2 separate regions of the Homo sapiens genome follow, and region 1 is linked to region 2. Evidence: promoter capture Hi-C in 16 types of primary human blood cells and fetal thymus (Javierre and others, 2016). All regions are on one chromosome and are shown on one strand. Each heading gives the region's core, a stretch centred on a gene start or on the middle of the fragment in contact. The rest is flanking DNA. Distances are from core to core; before and after follow the strand shown. Region 1 overlaps LOC105376815 (a long non-coding RNA gene). Region 2 holds the start of ALDH4A1 (aldehyde dehydrogenase 4 family member A1).

Region 1 (4,302 bases), core at 1,497-3,996, 72 kb after region 2:
GGGTTCAAGCGATTCTCCTGCCTCAGCCTCCTGAGTAGCTAGGATTACAGGCACGTGACACCATGCCCGGCTAATTTTTGTATTTTTAGTAGAGACGGGGTTTCACTGTGTTGGCCAGGCTGGTCTCAAACTCCCAACCTCAGGTGATCCGCCTGCATCAGCCTCCCAGAGTGCTGGGATTACAGGTATGAGCCACCGCACCCTGCCTATCATAGTTACATGGCCATCTTGTATCTATGTTAAGTGACGTTGGTATGATGAAAATTTCCTTTTCAAAGGAATTGTTTAAGTAAGTAAAAGGTGAATCTAAAAAATATATAATAATTTAGGTCACAGGTCTGCAAACTATGAGTCGAGTCAAATCTGGCCAACTGCCTGTTTATGCACCGTTCACAAACTAAGAATGGATTTTATGGCCAGACATGGTGGCTTACGTCTGTAATCCTAGCACTTTGGGAAGCCAAGGCAGGCAGATCACCAGGTCAAGAGATCGAGACCATCCTGCTCAACATGGTGGAACCCCATCTCTACTAAAAATACAAAAATTAGCTGGGCGTGGTGGCGGTCACCTTTAGTCCCAGCTACTTGGGAGGCTGAGGCAGGAGAATTGCTTGAACCCGGGAGGCAGAGGTTGCAGTGAGCCGAGATCACACCACTGCACTCCAGTCTGGTGATGGAGCGAGACTCTGCCTCAAAAAAAAAAAAAATGGATTTTACATTTTTTAATGGCTGGAACAAAGATCAAAGGAAGAATACTATTTTGTGTGAGTCAGCCATGGTGACTCACACCTGTAATCCCAGCATTTTGGAAGGCTGAGGCAGGAGGATAGCTTGAGGCCTGGGGTTCAAGACCAGCCTAGGCAACATAGCAAGACACCATTGCTACAAACAATTTAAAAATTAGTTGGGCATGGTGGAGTACATCTGTGGTCCCAGCTACCTGGGAGGCTGAGGTGGGAGGATCACTTGAGCCCAGGAGGTTGAGGTTACAGTGAGTTATGAGCACACCACACACTTCAGCTTGGGTGACACAACAAGACCCTGTCTCTAAAAATAATAATATTTTGTGGTAGTGACAAATATATGAAGTTCAAATTTCAGGGTCCATAAATAAAGTTTAATTGGCATACATCCAGGTTCATTAGTTTACTTCTTGTGTAAGGCTTCTTTCCTGCTACAATGGCACAGTTGAGTAGTTGCAACAGACAATGGGCTGCAAAGTCTAAAATATTTATTATTTAATCCTTTATGGAAAGAGTTTGCCACCTCCTGGTGGAGGTGGTTAGCTAATATGGCAAAGATCTTGGTGATATGGCAAAGATCCAGTGAACTCGTCACTGAAACTCTGGGAGATTGTCATCATTTATTTCCACCCAGTTTATAGGTGAGGAGGAAACTAAGGCTCAGCGAGGTTCAGTGGCTTCCCCAAGGTCACACAGCTAGTCAGCAGCAAGCAGGGATTTGAAATCAAGTTAGATTTGAAAGGGGCAGGAGGATACACAGGGCTAAAAATAACATATGCTTTACTGAGCTTTCTTTCCACAACTCACACCCGCTCCGTTCTGCATGTCCCCCACACACTTCCCACTATCTCTCTTTTTTATTTTTATTTTTTATTTTTATTTTTTAAGAGATGATATCTCTCTATGTTGTCCAGGCTGGATTTGAAGTCCTAGGCTCAAGAGATGCTGCCGCCTCATCCTCTCGAGTAGCTGGGACTGCAGCCCTTCCTCTTCTGCCCTCACTCTATGGGAGGAAGCCGTGGATTCATCATCATTTCCTAATAATGTGGCTCGTCTCCTCAAGCTCAGGACAGGCCCCTGGGGAGGGAACTGTGTCTTATACAAAGTTCACACACTTTAGCAGGACAGGAGAGGTCCTCTGCGGCTTGAGCCTGGTCTCCAGCCTCACCTCACCTCTCCCTTGCTTATGTTTGATGCTCCAGCGATCCTGAATTGTAACTCCCAAACCCGTCCCCAAGTAATATCACTACCAGTTACAACTTCCCCAGCCTAATGTGCTAGCTCAGGATTCTACCTTTACACAGGCTGTTCCTTCTGCTGAAAACCCTCCCTGCCTCTTTTATACCTAACTCCTATTCATTTTTCAAAGCCTCAATCAGGCATCAGTATGGAAACCACTGTGTTCTCCAGTCTCACTCCCAACAGAGGAGATCTGTCCCCCGTGCTGCCTCCGTGCCTCCTGTTATTGATAAGACCGTAGAACGGGCAGCTTAGACTGCAAGTTCTGGAGCCAAACAGCCTGGGTTCCAGTCTGGCTCCTCCTAGTTCTAACTGTGTGTTCTTAGACAAGTGACTGAGCCTCTCTTTGCCTCAGCTGCTTCATCTGTAAAATGGGTGCAGTGACAGTAGATTGTGCCTGGCATCAGTGTTAGGATTGAATAACACCCGTGAAACCCCTGCACATAGTAAGTGCTCGATAAATTTTTGCTGTTATACTGCACTGTATTTGCAGTTGTCAGTTTCTTTCCCCTCCCACACACCCTGGAGTTGATCGATCAGGGGTTCTGTGGGACTGGAGACTGGCTCTTGCCTAAGGGGACAACTCCCCAGTGCCTAATGCAGTGTCAGATATGGGATAGATACTCAGTAAAGGTGAGTTCCCTCCCATCTTTTTCCTCCTCACCTCCACCCTACCCCTGCTCCCAGCTGAATCAAGCAAACTGAGCACAAGCAAACTTGTACTAGCCTGCCCAAGTACAAGTCTGCTTTCTCACGGGGGTCCCAGGGCCATGCCAGGAGCTGCCCCTGCGGTGTCCCTTCCAGCCCCTTGAAAATCAGAGGACAGGCCGGACGCCATGGCTCACGTCTGTAATCCTAGCACTTTGGGAGGTCGAGGCAGGTGGATCACTTGAGGTCAGAAGTTTGAGACCAGCCTGGCCAATATGGTAAAACCCCGTCGTACTAAAAATACAACAACAACAAAAAAAAATAGCCAGGCATGGTAGTGGGTCCCTGTAATCCCAGCTGCTCGGAAGGCTCAGGCAAGAGAATCGCTTCAACCTGGAAGGCAGAGGTGGTGGTGAGCCAAGATCATGCCACTGCACTCCAGCCGGAGCGTCAGAGAGAGACTCCATCTCAAAAAATAAAAAAAAAATAAAATAAAAAGAAAGGAAAGAAAGAAAGAGAGAGAGAGAGGAAGGAAGGGAAGGAAATCAGAGAAGAGTACCCTATAAACACTGGTTTATGAGCCAGGAAACAGACTAAGAGGCTTGCCTTGTTCCTGAGTCAGTGGGACCTCAAACAAGGCCACAGCAGCGTCCTTGTTCCTGGTCCAGCCCCAGCCTCTCTCCTGTGAGTGGGCTTCCCTGCTAAACATAAATCTGTTAAAAAAAAAAAAAAAAAACCCAGCCAAAGACATGCCTGAATGGTGTCCTCGCAGCTGGGCTGGGGGCCAAGGTAGCAGGAGGCAGAGCAAGGCCGAGCCTCCCCAGTCAAACCAGAGTCCCCATCCGTCTAAATGGAAAGGAGGTGGGTCAGCTGCAAAACAGGCCTGAAAGCCCGGGTATAACACCATAGCGAAGAGCTCCGGCCCTGGGTTCAAATGTGAACCTCACAACTTAATAGCTGTATAACCTTGGGCAAGGCACTTCACCTCTCTGAGCTTCAGTAAAATGGGAATAGTAGCATCCTGTCTCACAGAGTGGCCATGAGGATGAACAAGCACTGGAAAGTGCTTTGCACACAGAGCCAGGCACAAAGTACTGTCATCCGCCCTTCCCTGTAGCTTCACCTTCCGCAGTTTTGGTTACCCCTGGTCAACAGTGGCCTGAACACAGGTGAATATGTACAGCACAATAAGAGTTGTTGAGGGAACGAGAAAGATCACATTTACGTAACTTTTATCACAGGATACGGTTATAATTATTCTCTTTTACTTTTACTGTTGTTAATATCTTACTGTGCCTAACTTATAAATTAAACTTTATCATAGGTATGTATGTATAGAAAAAAACACAGTATATATAGGGTTTAGTACTATCTGCAGTTTCAGGCATCCACTGGGGGTCTTGGAATGTAGCCCTCTCAGATAAGGGGGACAATTGTAAGTCTTTACTTCACCCAGCTCTTTTATTTATTTATCTATTTATTTATTGGGAAAAGATCTCTCTCTGTCTCTCAGGCTGGAGTACAGTGGTGTGATCACGGCTCACTACAGCCTCGACCTCCCGGACTCAAGCTATCCTCCCACCTCAGCCTCCCCAGTAGCTGGGACTACAGGCTCACGCTACCACGCCAGGCTAATTTTTGTATTTTTTGTAGAGATAGAGTTTTGCCATGT
Region 2 (3,894 bases), core at 1,085-3,584:
ACACTAAGAAGCATCTCCTATACCCGTTCCTCAAAAGCAGCGGTTTTTCTCAGGACTAGAGTTTTACACGTAGGACACTGAGGGATGTCACTGAAAATGCCCTGCGACTGTTTCTCCATAAATGCAGACATGGCATGTCACGGGTGTGCTCTAAATGTTCACTGAGTAAATGAACAAGTGATCAAACATCAAAGCTGTTCCTCTAGAGCACTGGCTCTCAACCGGAGGTGACTTTTGTCCCCCAGGTAACATCTGACAATGTCTGGGAACTTGTGTTTCCTGTCAGGGCCAGGGTTTTTTTCGTAATTGTCAGGGCCGGGGGTGCCCCTGACATGCAGCGGGTAAAGGCCAGAGACGCTGCTAAACATTCTACAGTGCACAGGACAGACTCCACAGCAACCAAAATGTAGCCCCAAATGCGAATAGTGGTGAGGTTGAGAAATCCTGTCTAGGGCATGCGGCCAGCTGCTGTATCAAAGGGGTAACTTGAGCCCAGGGAACCAGCTGCAAAATGCTCTTTCTCTTTCCCCTCTCAATTCAGGAGGCCTCATAATTCAGAGCATAAATCTGGATTTAGACCAAATGTAATTTCAGTCATATATCTCTGATGGCAGATCGTTTCCCATGATAATACAGGAATGAGACAGTACTTACCGGCTCGGTGTTAGGCCCATGGTGCTTGATTGCTTGATAATCATTATTGTTATCATGGGCTTATCTTTTAGAATATGGATTGCTTTCTACTAGATATTGGAGGGTTTTCCTATGCATTTCTCCCCTATTAAGCCGAAAACTCCTCAAAGGCCCCACCCCATGTAAATTCCCTGGGTACCCCTCATCTCTAGGGTGTTTGGCAGAGCACCAGCTCACAGTAGGCACTCAGTAAACACAGGACTCTATAAGCTCCATCTTCCTGAGTCTCAGAGTGCAGGGAAGGCCTGCAAACGGGATCACACAGGGAGTATGGCAAGTGTGGCCCCAGTCTCAGCCTAGAAGAGGAACCCCTCTGTCCCATGTCCTCTTCCTGCGCCCTTTCCTATCCCCTCTTCACCCACAGAGGACACACAGCAGTGTTGCAACTCACTTGTGCTCAGAGCACCACCATGCCATCCCTTGGGGGAAGGGAGAGGGCCACTGATTAACTCAGAAAGGGCACAGCTCATCAGGAAAGACACTGCCACTAACAGCCCCAGGGGTCAAGCAAACAAACCTCAAATGGGAGGGGGGGCTGATCCACAGGTGGGCAGCCCCACCAGACTAGGAACCCCTCTGGGGCAGGGTCTGTGTCCCACCTACCTCTCCAAACCTAGCTCCGAGCTGGAGGGGCTCTGAGAATATTTGTCATTGAGTGGGCAAGGGTCCAGGCACCTGGCTCCACAATGTCAGGTTTGCAAATCGGGATTTGAAGGGCAGGTCCACCCCTGAACTGCTCCTGGGTTTCTTCATTATTTGGAATAATGACCTGCCTCACAGGAGTGAGAAGTTTAAATAGAGGTGATAATGATGATGATCGTGGCAATAATAATAACCGGGCGCTGCCTTTGTGCTGGGCACTGTTCAGTGCACTCCCCATGTATTAACTCATTTAATCCTCATAAGACACCTGCCAATTGCCCGGCCAGCATTTGGTTCATTATAAGCACTCTATAAATATGATTATTCCACCTACAAGAAGAAAGGAATCCTTTTTTCTGTCCAACATTTAACTTGAAAAAAAAAAAAAAAAACGGGCGGCGGGGTGTGTGGGGAGCGGAAAAGAGAGAGGTAGAAATCCTGGTAGAAGGAGAGGACTCGGGGAATCCGGGGCGGGATGGGGACACTGAACGTGAGACGAGGGTGGGGAAGTGAGATGTGTGGTGTGCTAAAAATAGAAGGGCCCCTCAGGGGAAGCCAGCAAATTGCGAAGATCCAGTATTAGGAGTGAGGTGAGTGACTACAGAGGCTACTTTCCGAGCGTGGGAACCGGCAGGGCCACCGAGGCACCCTACTCGGTCGCAGGATTCGGGAAGAGGGGTCCCCTCGCTAAAGGAAGGTGACTACCTGAGGGAGGAGGCTAAGGGATCTCAGTGGGAGAAAGGCCTGGGTGGGGGTCGGAGGGGAGCCCCTGAGGAACCCGGCGTTGACCGAGGCAGCTTGGGGGTCCGGCAGGGAGGGAGTGCGGCGCGGGGGACGCCCAGTGACTCTCAGGCTCCCGGGCCCCAGGCGCGCGCTCGGGCCGCCCCGGGCCCCGTGCTCACTCACCCGGCCCCGGTCCAGGGGCGGGACAGCAGGGCGCGGCGGAGCGCGGGCGCCGGCAGCAGCATCTCGGGTTAGAAGCGGGGCTGTTCGCTGGATCGTCCGCCCGGGCGCGGCGAGAATGCACAACCCCGTCCAGAGCGCACCACCTCGATCCTCGGGGGGAAACGGATCACCCCGGCTGTCCTCCGAGCTCGGGATCAGCCAAAGTCCCACTATATTTAGCTTCGGCTAATAAAAAATATTTCTAGTGCCATAACGGGGGCATTACACAACACAGGACAAGGGAACCCGAAAGCGAAGTCCTGAAATGCATGCGTTTTCCCCTCCTCTCTTTATGGTATGACCCGGGAGAGAGGGCGTGAACTCTGTCGACCAGTCAGAGTGACACACCAAAGCTTCTGAACCAATCAGCGGGGCGGTCCTGCGGCAGCCTTCCAAAGCGGAGCAGAGAGGGGCTGAATAGAGCCAATGAGATAACCGAAATGGGACACGTGCTGAAGCGGGGCAGAAGGACTCGCTGCGTCCGGCCCTCTGGCGTGCGCCCCGGGTTCGATGGGAGTCCGACTGACTTCTCTCGGGCTGCCGGTGGCTTGTACAAGGCTGGAAACCTGTCCGCTACCAGACTCCTCGACCCCGCAGGGCCACAGCGCGGCCAGCCCCCTGCTTCTTCCCGGGGGCTGCGGCCCCTGGAATGAGCCTGCCTTCCAGCTTCTTGGCCAGGACCCAGCCGCTCTCCACCTACCCTCCAGGCGCGGGGCCGGCCAGCTTCTTAGCTTCCTTGCAGATTACGATCAATGCAAGATAAAACCTGAGCTGGCCAACGCTTAGCTTTTCATTTAAAGCCTTTGGCCGCAAAACCAGTTGTTCCTGAGCCTTTTACCCCCAAGTAAAAATTTCAGCTTTCTTTGCAAAATGTTGTGTGCTTGGTAAACACTAGAATGCTATTTAAAACTTGGATTCTGAAGTCTTCTCTGATGACGAGGTCTCAGGGACCCAATCTATTCCTAAAGTAATGTTACGTTTCCTTACTCTCTGTTCTAATTTGTTTATATTTCTTCCAGCAGCATGAACCGCGCACCTGCTTAGGAGTCAGTTCCCATGCTGATTTTGGTTCCTCAAGCAGGGCACTAGGCAGACTACATATCCTTTCCGGGCCTCAGTTTCCTCATCTGTAAAACGGAAGTAATAGTACCCAACTCACAAAGCCCCCGTGATCTTAAGCCACTTATTTTTCTCCAGATTACACCATTTGAGGTACTTTGGGAGAATGTAAACATTTAAATGAAGAGTAGGAGAGGGAGATTACCTAAATGCCAAGTATTAGGAATGGCAAAAAGCAAATTGGAATTGGTGGCGGCTATTTGTCTTCACCTTTGGAGAAAACCCTAGACAGGTGGGCTCAGTTCACATTTGGGCAATGTTGCCCTGAACATGCCCATTGACAAGAAAAACTAGAACATTGGTTACTGTCAAATCCAGAGCCTGGGAAGGTGACCTCCTGTGGGCACGTTGGAGAGCCTGGAAAAATGGGGGCTTTGTGGTTAAAAGGACATCAGTTCCAAACCAGGCCAAGCCAGTTACTGAGCCTGTGATGTCTCATGTCCTCTCTTCCCCTTCAGTAAAATGTGTGTAATGATTCCTGCTTTGTCATCTTCC

What was found. Contacts are between HindIII fragments. The CHiCAGO score rates a contact against its expected background, and 5 or more counts as called.
Region 1: a contact is called between a fragment that was not itself captured here and the fragment with the promoter of ALDH4A1 in region 2, in 4 of 17 cell types (naive CD4 T cells, naive CD8 T cells, total CD8 T cells and 1 more). The highest score is 5.9, in naive CD4 T cells.

The regions. Positions count from the first base shown.
Region 1 is chr1:18,971,413-18,975,714 of GRCh38, forward strand. All of the region lies in intron 2 of LOC105376815 (a long non-coding RNA gene), which reads right to left. Among named protein-coding and RNA genes, the nearest start is that of IFFO2, 17 kb to the left of the region's middle. The HindIII fragment of the contact is 6,746 bases long and covers 1-4,302 here.
Region 2 is chr1:18,900,221-18,904,114 of GRCh38, forward strand. ALDH4A1 (aldehyde dehydrogenase 4 family member A1) reads right to left here and starts at 2,335. Exons shown (of 15, transcript NM_003748.4): 1 at 2,242-2,335. The coding sequence starts at 2,303. LOC124903866 (a long non-coding RNA gene) reads left to right here and starts at 1,893. Exons shown (of 2, transcript XR_007065519.1): 1 at 1,893-2,032; 2 at 2,590-3,151. RefSeq lists a silencer at 2,102-2,321 and enhancers at 2,402-2,631, 2,571-3,388. The HindIII fragment of the contact is 9,883 bases long and covers 1-2,631 here.